Regions from separate parts of the Homo sapiens genome. Here region 2 is linked to region 1. Evidence: promoter capture Hi-C in 16 types of primary human blood cells and fetal thymus (Javierre and others, 2016). All regions are on one chromosome and are shown on one strand. Each heading gives the region's core, a stretch centred on a gene start or on the middle of the fragment in contact. The rest is flanking DNA. Distances are from core to core; before and after follow the strand shown.

Region 1 (6,686 bases), core at 1,632-4,131:
CAATGGTCTAATGATCATCAACGTTTGCTAGACTATTAGAAGAAAGGCTGATGGTAAACTTCATGGATAATCAGGATGACAACCCCCAAATTGAGAGATGAATTACAATATTACTAAGAGACAAACCCGCCTTGTGCCTCAGTAGAAGTACATAGTGCCAGCCACGAAGCGTTATTGCAAACAAAACAAAACAAAAAAACCCAAACCTCAACATTACACCTAAACCTAATGAAGCTTCTAGCCAGGGGCAAATCCAAGCTTTGTGGGGCCTTAAACTATACAAATTTCACAGTCCTCTTTAAGAAAAAGACACAAAATTATAAATGCGAAATTAGGTACGGGGGTCTATGCAAGGGAGGGCCTGAAGATTAAGCTTCATTAGTTTCACTGTAAACCTCCCCTGACTCTAGAATTAACTGTGATTACAGGACATACCAGGGACAAAAAACGTTAAATGACACCTGAAGATACAATCAGCAAAACCCAGAAAGTGGAAAATTCTGTTGGTCAAATGACCCAGTTTCTTCAATAAGTAAATGCCATGAATAACAAACAACAAAAAGAGAGGGGAAATTTATATATATAATATATATATAATATGTATAATATATATATATGTTGTTATATGGTTTGTTTTTTTTTTTTTGGACACGAGTCTCTCTCTCACCCAGGCTGGAGTGCAGTGGCATGATCTCGGCTCACTGCAACCTCTGCCTCCTGGGTTCAAGCGATTCTTCTGCCTCAGTCTCCCAAGTAGCTGGGACTACAGGTGAGCACCACCACACCCAGCTAATTTTTGTATTTTTGGTAGAGGTAGGGTTTCACCATATTGGCCAGGCTGGTCTCGAACTCCTGACCTCGTGATCTGCCCACCTTGGCCTCCCAAAGTGCTGGGATTACAGGTGTGAGCCACTGCGCCCGGCCCTGTTTTTGTTTGTTTTGAGATAGAATCTCACTCTGTTGCCTAGGCTGGAGTACAGTGGCATCATCTCAGCCCACTGCAACCTCCACCTCCCTGATTCTAGCAATTCTCCTGCCTCAGCCTCCCAAGTAGCTGAGATTACAGGTGTGCACCACCACACCTGGCTAATTTTTGTATTTTTAGTAGAAACAGGGTTTCACCATGTTGGCCAGGCTGGTCTCAAACTCCTGACCTCAAGTGATCCTTCCACCTCAGCCTCCCAAAGTGCTGGGATTACAGGCATGAGCCACTGTGCCCAGCCAAAATTGTTATATATTAAGAGACATATATTTGTATGAAATGCAGTAAGTAAACCTTGTTTGGACCCTAAATATCTAATGTACAAAATTTTTTAAGGCAATGGGGAAAATTAAACACATACTAGGTATTAAGTGATGTTAAATAATTTTTAAAATTTTGGTGGGTGTGATAATAGTATAAAGTCCTTATCTGTTAGAGACACACACTGACGTATTTATAGGTGAAATGACATGATGTCCAGGATTTGCTTTAATATACAGCACTTCAAAAAAAAATGCAGAAAGGGATACATGAAATGAGAAAGGCAGCAAACTGTTGTTGAAGTTGGATGATGAGTACAGCCCTCCGTTATTATCCAAGGGGGATAATTCCTGGACCCCTACGGATACCAAAATCCAGGTATGCTCAAGTTCTTTATGAAAGTTCATTGTAATTATTCTATTATATAAAAGTTTCGAAATTCTGTTGATAAAATGTATTTTTAGTAGAGACGGGGGTTTCACCTTGTTGGCCCAACTGGTCTCGAATTTCTAACCTCAGATGATCCACCAGCCTTGGCCGCCCAAAGTGTTAGCATTACAGGCGTGAGCCACCGCGCCCGCCTGGCCTTGATAAAAACAGTTTTAACCTTCCGTTGCTTCGATTCCATGCCCACTAAGTAACATTCCAGTTTGTTTTTCACTTTCAAAAGGATGTGCTGTAACTAGGGGATGTAAACAAGCTCCATGACCCTACTTATTCCAAGTTTTCGTTCCACTCTCCCACCTTTTTTTTAAGACAAGGTATCACCCTCGGTCGCCCAGGCTGGAGCGCGATCACTGCTTAATGCATCCTCGACCTCCTGGGTTCAAGCGATTCTCCTGCCTCAGCCTCCCAAGTAGCTGGGACTACATGCGCACACCACCACACCGGTTAATTTTTTGTAGAGACGGGGGTTTCACCATGTTGCCCAGGCTGGTCCCGAACTCCTGGGCTCAAGGGATCCGCCCGCCTCAGCCTCCCAGAGTGCTGGGATTACAGGTGCCAGCCACCGCGCCCGGCCCCAGCTTCTTAAAAGAATGATCCGAAACTATGGCAGCACTGGGCTTTTGGTCCCCACCCAAGAAATGCCCGCTCGCAGAGGCTCGCCGCGGCAGGCTCTCCCGACGTGACAGAGTGTGGGTCTGGATTCAGCCTCGGTTCTTACGAGTCAGATAGGTGGACACGCAAAGCAAAACATCACAGGGCTTTTTGTATTTAGCACAGAAAACACTTGTGAGCCCGAGCTGAGAACCCAAAAGGCACGCTTCAGGCCATCGTAGCCACCAAGCCTGGTCAGATTCCGTCCACCGTCTCCTTGGTGCTCCGAGACCCAAATCGCTGACTGGGGCCGAGGGCGGGCGTGACTGCGCAGGCGTGCCTCCCCTGCGAGATGCCGGAGGTAAGCTGCGGGGTAAGGGGCGAGAAATTAAGGGCGAACGTCATTGCGCATGCGCCCTCTACTCTCGTTGCGGGGGTAGGCGGGCGCCGGGCTGTGTGAGGGGGCGGGGCGCGGCAGTGTTCGGTACGGATGGAGTTGCAGGAGACGGCGAGTACATATCACTGCGCAGGCGTCCTCTTCCCCTAACTCTCAGGGTCGCTAGGGTGGCGCGCAGGCGCAGAGCGATGCGCAAATGTGCGCAGGCGCTTAGGGGCTGAGGCGCGATGGCAGGTGTCGGGGCTGGGCCTCTGCGGGCGATGGGGCGGCAGGCCCTGCTGCTTCTCGCGCTGTGCGCCACAGGCGCCCAGGGGCTCTACTTCCACATCGGCGAGACCGAGAAGCGCTGTTTCATCGAGGAAATCCCCGACGAGACCATGGTCATCGGTCAGGCGGGCTGAGGGTGGGGAGGCCCTTTGTACCCAGCTCAGCCCTCGGCGGCGCTCCCTCCTCCCGAGCCCAGCCGGGTCGCTGGCTCCCCCAGTACCTAGCCTGAGGGTGCCCCGAGGACGCCAGGCCCCCTGCCTAGAGCTCCGGGCCGCACGTCGGAGGGGGCCGGGCGGAGAGGCGGCCCACTAGGGCCGGTCGTGACTATGTGTCTGCCCCGCAGGCAACTATCGTACCCAGATGTGGGATAAGCAGAAGGAGGTCTTCCTGCCCTCGACCCCTGGCCTGGGCATGCACGTGGAAGTGAAGGACCCCGACGGCAAGGTAAGGCTGGCGTTGGCCCACGCAGCCGTTCTTCAGTGGAGCTCCCGTGGGGTGTAAAGCACTGCCTGGAGGAGGCCTCAAGGGACAGGAACTTGCACTTGGAGAGCCTGCGGTATAAAGGTGGGGCCTTCACTCACATATGTTGCAGGTGGTGCTGTCCCGGCAGTACGGCTCGGAGGGCCGCTTCACGTTCACCTCCCACACGCCCGGTGACCATCAAATCTGTCTGCACTCCAATTCTACCAGGATGGCTCTCTTCGCTGGTGGCAAACTGGTAAGAGGATTTTCTCTTTGGCTTCAGCTTAGAATCTCTCACTTGTTTCCAAATTTTGATTTATCAAGATTGTGAAACTTTGTAGCACAGTCAGAATTGGGGAGACAGATGTTGCCTTCTGCTCCACAGCCAGGGACAATAGTGGGTTCCATACCCTGGAACAGACAACTGGAGGCCCCACCACTCATACATTCCATGTTTCCTTGTAGCGGGTGCATCTCGACATCCAGGTTGGGGAGCATGCCAACAACTACCCTGAGATTGCTGCAAAAGATAAGCTGACGGAGCTACAGCTCCGCGCCCGCCAGTTGCTTGATCAGGTGGAACAGATTCAGAAGGAGCAGGATTACCAAAGGGCAAGTGCATATCTCCTTGTAATTTGAGAGGGCAGTTGACCTTTATACCCACTATACCTACTCAAGTTTCTGCTTGGGAGATCAGCTCTGCAGAGAATGGAATGAGAAGTATTGGTTTAGATAGGTTGTTTGTTTGTTGTTTTTGAGACGGAGTTTCACTCTTGTTGCCCATGCTGGAGTGCAATGCCATGATCTTGGCTCACTGCAACCTCCGCCTCCCCAGGTTCAAGCGATTCTCCTGCCTCAGCCTCCTGAGTAGCTGGGATTACAGGCATGCGCCACCATGCCTGGCTAATTTTGTACTTTTAGTAGAGACGGGGGTTTCTCCACGTTGGTCAGGCTGGTCTCGAACTCCCGACATCAAGTGATCCGCCCGCCTCAGCCTCCCAAAGTGCTGGGATTACAGGTGTGAGCTACCGCGCCCTGCCTGTTTTGCTTTTTTATCAAAACATTTTATTGTGGTAAAATATAACACCAAATGTGTCATTTTAACTGTCTATATAGTTCAGTGGTATTAAGTGCCTTCATAATGTTGTGCTACCAACACCATCATCCAGCTCCAGAACTTTTTCATCTTCTCAAACTAAAAATCTGTACTTATTTTGTTTTGTTTTTGAGATGGAGTCTCGCTCTGTTGCCCAGGCTGGAGCGCAGTGGCGCCATCTCGGCTCACTGCACCCTCCGCCTCCCAGGTTCAAGCGATTCTCCTGCCTCAGCCTCCCAAGTAGCTGGGATTACAGGCAAGTGCCACCATGCGTGGCTCATTTTTGTGTTTTTAGTAGAGACTGGGTTTCACCATGTTGGCCAGGCTGGTCTTGAACTCCTGGCCTCAGGCAATCCACTGCCGCAGCCTCCCAAAGTGTTGGGATTACAGGCGTGAGCCACTGCACCCAGCAAATCTGTACTTATTATAAACAATAACTTCCCGTTTCCTTTTGTCCTGACACCCACCATTCTACTTTCTGTCTCTATGATCCTGACTACCCTATCTCATATAAGTGGAATCATTCAGTATTTGTCCTTTTGTGACTGGCTTATTTCACTGAGTATAATGTTCTCACAGTTCATCCATGTTATAGCATGTGTCAGAATTTCTTAAGGCTAATATTCCATTGTATGCATGTGCCACATTTCGCTTTCAGTAGTCATTTTTAAGCTCTATAAAATAAAATGAAGAAAGGACAGTTCACAATCTAGTAATAGCCATTGCCTACCTGTTTTTCTTGGACTCTTGTTGGAAATGGTAGGATCATGATTTCAGTCCTAACAGAGATGCTTGTGGAGGGACAGCCTGTCCCTTTCTTGGGGCAGCCTCAGTGGGGAGACCATAGCACTCCTAATGGAGTCACAGATAGTATTCCAAAAGGAGTTTGGTCCTGGAGTTGAGTAATTACACGCAGGGAGGGACCTCACAACAGCCAGACTGTTTCTCCTGCTCACTTAACCCTGTGTTGCCCCACACAGTATCGTGAAGAGCGCTTCCGACTGACGAGCGAGAGCACCAACCAGAGGGTCCTATGGTGGTCCATTGCTCAGACTGTCATCCTCATCCTCACTGGCATCTGGCAGATGCGTCACCTCAAGAGCTTCTTTGAGGCCAAGAAGCTGGTGTAGTGCCCTCTTTGTATGACCCTTCCTTTTTACCTCATTTATTTGGTACTTTCCCCACACAGTCCTTTATCCACCTGGATTTTTAGGGAAAAAAATGAAAAAGAATAAGTCACATTGGTTCCATGGCCACAAACCATTCAGATCAGCCACTTGCTGACCCTGGTTCTTAAGGACACATGACATTAGTCCAATCTTTCAAAATCTTGTCTTAGGGCTTGTGAGGAATCAGAACTAACCCAGGACTCAGTCCTGCTTCTTTTGCCTCGAGTGATTTTCCTCTGTTTTTCACTAAATAAGCAAATGAAAACTCTCTCCATTACCTTCTGCTTTCTCTTTGTCCACTTACGCAGTAGGTGACTGGCATGTGCCACAGAGCAGGCCCTGCCTCACTGTCTGCTGGTCAGTTCTGGGTTCACTTAATGGCTTTGTGAATGTAAATAAGGGGCAGGTCTTGGCCCTAGAGGATTGAGATGTTTTTCTAAATCTTAGAACTATTTTTGGATAAATTATATATTTTCCTTCCTAGTAGAAGTGTTACTGCCTGTAACTAGCTCAAAATACCAATGCAGTTTCTGCATTCTGGGTTTTGTTTTTCCTTTTTTTTTTTTTTTTTTTTTTTTGAGTTTTGCTCTTGTCGCCCAGGCTGGAGTGCAATGGCGTGATCTCAGCTCACTGGCAACATCTGCCTCCCGGGTTCAAATGATTCTCCTGCCTCAGTCTCCTGAGTAGCTGGGATTACAGGTGCCCGCCACCACGCTCAGCTAATTTTTGTATTTTTAGTAGAGATGGGGTTTTACCATGTTGGCCAGGCTGGTCTTAGACTCCTGACCTCAGTTGATCCACCTGCCTCAGCCTCTGCATTCAGTTTATTCACATATTTTTGGTAACTCCCATGGCAGCTCCTAGGATTTCAGCGGTCTGTGGGCCAGAAAGCAGGCACCAGGGCTGACCTCAAGGCCGTATCAGAGGGCCAAGCAGAGTTCTTTTGGATACCTGCTTTTCATCCCACAGGGCCTTAGAGTCAGAGGTAAGGTAGCAACAGAGCTAGAATGGGGC
Region 2 (6,686 bases), core at 3,096-5,595, 270 kb before region 1:
GGCCAACATGGTGAAACCCCGTCTCTACCACAAATACAAAAATTAGCTGGGCGTGGTGGTGGGCGCCTGTAATCCCAGCCACTGGGGAGGCTGAGGCAGAAGAATCATTTGAACCCAGGAAGCAGAGGTTGCAGTCAGCCGAGATCTCGCCATTACACTCCAGCCTTGGTGACAGGGTGAGACTCTGTCTCAAAAAAAAAAAAAAAAAAAAAAAAAAATATATATATATATATATATATATATATATATAACTATATATACTATATATAACTACATATATGATCATATATCTATAGTTAACTACTAAAGGGTAAAAAGAGAACTCTAAGGTGTCATGGAGGTAGCAACTAGCAGCTACCTTGAAAAAATCAAAGGGAAAATCTTAGAAACCTAGAGAAAGGGACCTCTAGAGCTGCAACTCAAACCTCTGAGGAAGGAGCCGGCTGGTGCTGGTGAGGGGGTTAGAGACAATTAGGCTGGCTTTTCAAGAGTTGGAAAAACTGAGTCAGCTGCTGCTACCTAACGAACTGCTCCAGCCAGAGTGAAGTCCTGAATAAGTGACACTCAGAGAAACAGAAAGCGGACTGGAGGGCGCCTTCAGTCTTTCCATTTCCCTCTAGTTCCCCCTATTGGCAAAGCCTAGCAGGGAAGCAAAGGCAAAGCAGAAGTGTGTTTTGCAGAGTCCCAGGCATCACAGCTGAGTATAGAAGGGTGGGTGCATCCTGATTGACCTCATTTAGAACTGGCCAGGCTTGGGCCAGGCTCACTGGCTCACGCTTGTAATCCCAGCACTTTGGTAGGCTGAGGCGGGCGGATCACAAGGTCAGGAGATCGAGACCATCCTGGCTAACACGGTGAAACCCTGTCTCTACTAAAAATACAAAAAAAAAAAGTCGCCGGGTGTGGTGGCGGGCACCTGTAGTCCCAGCTACTCCGGAGGCTGAGGCAGGAGAATGGCGTGAACCCGGAAGGCGGAGCTTGCAGTGAACCGAGATGGCGCCACTGCACTCCCGCCTGGGTGACAGAACGAGACTCCGTCTCAAAAAAAAAAAAAAAAGAAAGAAAAATTGGGCAGGTTCTGGCTCATGTGAGTAGCTGCCTTGCCACTGCAATCTGCCCTAAACCTTTCCAGGAATTTTTACAAAATAATAGTAATAATAATAATACAGTCATGTGCCACATAGGGCATTTATTTGTGGCCCCATAGGATTACAATGAAATTGAAAAATTCCTATTGCCTAGTGACATCATAACCATCTTAGCCATTATAACCTCTTAGTGCCAGGCATTACCCACGTTTCTGGTGATGCTTGTGTAAACAAACCTACTGGCTGCCAGTTGTATAAAAGTATAGCACTTGCAATTATGTACAATATATAATTGCTAATGATAATAAAAAACTATGTTACTGATACTTTTTTTTTTTTTTGAGACAGAATCTTGCTCTGTGGCCCAGGATAGAGTGCAGTAGTGTTATCTCGGCTCACTGCAACCTCCACCTCCCAGGTCCAAGCGATTCTCCTGCCTCAGCCTCTTGAGTAGCTGGAATTATAGACGTGTGCCACCATGCCAGCTAATTTTTGTATTTTTAGAGAGACAGTGTTTCACCATGTTGGGCAGCTGGTCTCGAACTCCTGGCCTCAGGTGTCTGCCAGCCTCGGCCTCCCAAAGTGCTGGGATTGCAGGCATAAGCCACCGCGCCCAGTAGTTACTGGTACTTTTTATCAATATTTTATTTATTTTTATTTTTTATTTTTTGAGACAGAGTCTCGCTCTGTCGCCCAGGCTGGAGTGCAGTGGCTCGATCTCAGCTCACTGCAACCTCCGCCCCAGGTTCAAGCGATTCTCCTGTCTCAGCTCCCCCGAGTAGTTGGGACTACAGGTATCTGCCACCACGCCCGGCTAATTTTTGTATTTTTAGTAGAGACGGGGTTTCACTATGTTGGCCAAGCTGGTCTCAAGCTCCTGACCCCAAGTGATCCGCCCACCTCGGCATCCCAAAGTGCTGGGATTACAGGCGTGAGCCACCACGCCTGGCCCTTTATCATTATTTTAGAGTGTACTCCTTCTACTCATAAAAAAAGAACTGTAAAACAGTCTCAGGCAGGTCCTTCAGGAGGGATCCACAAGAAGGCATTGTTATCACAGGACATGACAGCTCCATATGTGTTAATGCCCTTGAAGACATTCCAGTGTGACAAGATGTGGAGCTGGAAGACAGTGATATTGATGATCCTCACCCTGTATAGACCAAGGCTAATATGTGTGTTTGTTTCTTCATTTTTAACATACAAGTTTTTAAAAGTGAAAAAACAATTTTTTTTAATTAAAAATAGACCAGGTGCCATGGCTCACGGGTCTGTAATCCCAGCACTCTGGGTGGCCAAGAGGGGAAGGATCACTTAAGTCCAGGAGTTGGAGACCAGCCTGGGCAACATGGTGAAACCCCGTCTCTACAAAAAATACAAAAATTTGCCGGGCCTGGTGATCTGTGCCCATAGTCCCAGCTACTCAGGAGCCTGAGGTGAGAGAATCACTTGAGCCCAGGAAGCGAAGATTGCAGTGAGCTGAGATTGCGCCATTGCACTGCAGCCTGGGTGGCAGAGTAAAATCCCTTCTCAATAAAAAGCAAAAAGCTTACAGAATATGGATATGAAGAAATAAAACATTTTGTGCAGTCATACAAGGTATTTGTGTTTTAAGCTAAGTGTTTTACAAAAACTCAAAAAAATTTTTTAATGTAAAGGTTTATAAAGTTAAAAAGTTATGGTAAGCTAAGGTTAACTTATTATTGAAGAAAAATATTTTTATAAATTTAGAGGAGCCTATGCACACTGTTCATAGTCTCCAGTACTATACAGTATAAAGTCCTAGGCCTTCACATTCATTCACCACCCACTCACTGAATCATTCAAAGCAACTTCCAGTCCTGCAAGCTCCATTTATGGTAAGTGCCCTATACAAGTGTACTATTTTGTATCTTTTTTGGGGTTTTTGTTTGTTGGTTTGTTTTTTGAGACAGAGTTTCGCTCTTGTTGCTCAGGCTGGAGTGCAATGGCACGATCTCGGCTCACTGCGACCTCTGCCTCCCAGGTTCAAGCGATTCTCCTGCCTCAGCCTCCCCAGTAGCTGGGATTACAGGCATGTGCCACCACACCCAGCTAATTTTTGTATTTTTAGTAAAGATGGGGTTTCACCATGTTGGCCAGGCTAATCACGAACTACTGACCTCAGGTGATCTGCCCACCTCAGCTTCCCAAAGTGTTGGGATTATAGGCATGAGCCACCCCAGCCCAGCCTTGTATCTTTTATACTGTATTTTTACTGTTCCTTTTCTATGTTTAGGTATACAAATACTTACCATTATGTTACAGTAGTATTCAGCACTAGTAACATGCTGTACAGATTTGTAGCCTAGGAACAACAGGCTATGCCATATAGCTAGGTGTCTAGTAGGCTATATATACCATCTAGGTTTGTGTAAGTACACTCTATAATGTGAGCATGATGATGAAATTTCCTAATGACACATTTCTCAGAAGGTATCCCCATCAGTAAGCAATGCATGACTGTACTTTAAAAAGGAGAATTTGGCTATCCTTTACAAAAGTAGCCAAAAGAGGCCGGGCGCGGTGGCTCACGCCTGTAATCCCAGCACTTTGGGAGGCCAAGGCGGGTGGATCACGAGGTCAGGATATCGAGACCATCCTGGCTAACACGGTGAAACCCCGTCTCTACTAAAAATACAAAAAAAAATTAGCTGGGCGTGGTAGCGGGGGCCTGTAGTCCCAGCTACTCGGGAGGCTGAGGCAGGAGAATGGCGTGAACCTCGGAGGCGGAGCTTGCAGTGAGCCGAGATCGCGCCACTGCACTCCAGCCTGGGCGACAGAGCGAGACTCCGTCTCAAAAAAAAAAAAAAAGGAATAGCCAAAAGAAAATTTCTGTCTCTTACAGTCTTTGTGATATTTTGAAGAGCACTGCAGCATTAAAATGGAATTTAAAAGTGAACACAGGGATAAAAAGCTCCTGCAATCTATGTATAGTAATCTTTAAGTCTGAAGTCTCTAAATGCTAACACACTTCACTGTATCAGCAACACCTCTGCAGAGGTGAAACTGATGACTAAGGGCAAGGATGGGAGGAGTTTGTGTGTCTGTGTGTATGAGTCTTGCTCTCACTCAGGCTGGAAGGCAGTGGCACAATCACAGCTCATTGCATCCTTAAATTCCTGGGCTCAAGTGATCCTTCTCCCTCAGCCTCCTGAGTAGCTGGGACTACATGTGCACGCCACCATGCCTGGCTTATTTTCTTAATTTTTTTATTTTTTGAGACGGAGTCTTGCTGTGTCGCCCAGGCTGGAGTGCAGTGGCGCAATCTCGGCTCACTGCAGGCTCCGCCTCCCGGGTTCATGCCATTCTCCTGCCTCAGCCTCCCGAGTAGCTGGGACTACAGGCGCCCGCCACTACGCCCGGCTAATATTTTGTATTTTTAGTAGAGACGGGGTTTCACCGCGTTAGCCAGGATGGTCTCGATCTCCTGACCTCGTGATCTGCCTGCTTCGGCCTCCCAAAGTGCTGGGATTACAGGCGTGAGCCACCGCGCCCGGCTTATTTTTTTTATTTTTCACAGAGATGTGGGTCTCACTATGTCACCCACACTGGTCTCGAACTCCTGGGCTCAAGCGATCCTCCTGCCTTAACCTCTAAAGTGCTGAGATTACAGGCATGAGCCACTGCACCAGGGGAGTCTTTTCACTGTATACCCTTTGTACATTTTGAAATTTTGTACGTGTGAATATCTTGCCTACTCAAAAATTGACTACATTTTTGCAGAGAAAAGTCATTGTCTTAGTTCAGGTTTCCCAGGAAACAAATGGGATTTGCTTTCAAGAGGTAATAGTATGGAATGCTCTTGGGGACATTACTAGGAGAAAATAGAGGAAGTAGGATTACGCAGAAGTTGAACTTCAATGCAGTTAGATCAAGTCAAAACTAATCACACAAGAAACTCTGGAGCTGGAATGGCCCTTCAGAATTGTCTCAAATTAAGGCAAAAGAGCTAGGCACTATATCCTACATCCACCAGTCACTGGAGGTAGGCCCCCTAAAAAGGAGTGTAAACTTGGGCGATACAGCTTCCTTTGGCCAAGTCCAATTCCTGGGTAGAGATCCCTGAGTAATGATCAGTCAACACTTCCAGGAGCTAAATAAGTGCTCCAGTTTTTTTGTTTTTGTTTTTTTGAGACAGAGTCTTGCTCTGTTGCCCAGGCTGGAGTGCAGTGGCGTCATCTCGGCTCATTGCAACTTCCACCTCCTGGGTTCAAGTGATTCTCCTGCCTCAGCCTCCCAGAGTAGCTGGGACTACAAGCGCATGCCACTACACCCAGCTAATTTTTGTTTTAGTAGAGATGGGGTTTCACCATGTTGGCCAAGCTGGTCTGGAACTCCTGACCTCAGGTGATCTGCCCACCTCAGCCTCCCAAAGTTCTGAGATTACAGGGATGAGCTACCACACCTGGCCAAGTGCTCCAGTTTTATAAGGAATACGTGGGCTCTGGACTGTGCACTGCAGCATATACTATACCAGTGGTTCTTAAATTTCAGTATGCACCAGAATCCCCTGGAGCGCTTGTAGGTCCCACCCTCAGTGTCAGATTCAGCAGGTCTGGGGTGGTGGTGAGAATACATTTCTAACAAGTTCCAAGTGATGCTGATGCTGGTGGTCTAAGGATCACACTTTGAGAACAATTATACTATATATTACTGGGTTAAATCCAGCAACATTGAATAATTTTTTTTTTAGAGATACAGTCTGGTTCTGTTGCCTGTCTGGTGAGCAGTGACACAATCATACATAGCTCACTGCAGCCTTGAACTCGTGGGCTCAAGTTCTCTACCCACCTCAGCCTCTCAACTAGCTGGGATCACAGGCATGTGCCACACACTCAGCTAATTTTTTTCTTTTAATTTTTGTAGAAGTGGAGTCTTGCCATGTTGCCCAGGCTGGTCTCAAACTCCTGCCCTGGTGACTCATGCCTTGGCCTCCCAAAGCTTTAGGATTACAGGCATGAGCTACCATCCCCAGCCCAAAGTTGAATAATTTGTCAATGTTTGTAGTTTATCATTTATAGATGCTAATACATAACATTTTCTGGTTAGACTGGTGTTCTTCATGAGCTCATCTTTGCCTTTTTTGTTACCCTAGTTCACTAGAAACTAAATTTTACTAACACACTTGGTTTATAAAACTGTTAGTAGGCAGACTTTTTTCTGGCATCTGTGTTTACAGTGATGATATAATTTAGTGATGATATATAAATCAGTGAAAGGATTACTATTATCTACAATGAGAACCAGTCTTTTTCAACCTAACTCCACTTTCATCAAAATCTGAATCAATGACATGAAGGCTGAGGGGTAGAGAGTGGTGAGAAAATGATTTTCCTGTTAAGGAAGGAAGTTAACATTTATTGGATATTATGTGCTAGGTACAGTGCTAGGTGCTTTCTCATACATTATTGGACACTTCTTTCAGCCCCCCTTCACAAGGGCAACTCTTCTTTTTTTTTTTTTTTTTGAGATGGAGTGGAGTCTTGCTCTGTCGCCCAGGCTGAAGTGCAGTGGCGCAATCTTAGCTCACTGCAGCCTCCGCTTCCCAGGCTCTCCTGGGCCCAGGTGATTTTCCTG

Evidence for each region. The method cuts DNA at HindIII sites, captures the fragments that hold promoters and counts their contacts. A CHiCAGO score of 5 or more calls a contact.
Region 2: a fragment that was not itself captured here is called in contact with the fragment with the promoter of TMED4 in region 1 in 13 of 17 cell types (naive B cells, M0 macrophages, naive CD8 T cells and 10 more); the score reaches 8.9 in naive B cells.

What each region holds. Positions count from the first base shown.
Region 1 is chr7:44,578,426-44,585,111 of GRCh38, reverse strand. TMED4 (transmembrane p24 trafficking protein 4) reads left to right here and starts at 2,881. Exons shown (of 5, transcript NM_182547.4): 1 at 2,881-3,065; 2 at 3,289-3,389; 3 at 3,538-3,663; 4 at 3,873-4,019; 5 at 5,484-6,686. The coding sequence starts at 2,906. The coding sequence ends at 5,633. RefSeq lists an enhancer at 2,398-2,507 and silencers at 2,598-2,757, 3,158-3,257. The HindIII fragment of the contact is 9,471 bases long and covers 376-6,686 here.
Region 2 is chr7:44,851,056-44,857,741 of GRCh38, reverse strand. No RefSeq gene overlaps it. Among named protein-coding and RNA genes, the nearest start is that of H2AZ2-DT, 5.9 kb to the right of the region's middle. The HindIII fragment of the contact is 3,414 bases long and covers 2,639-6,052 here.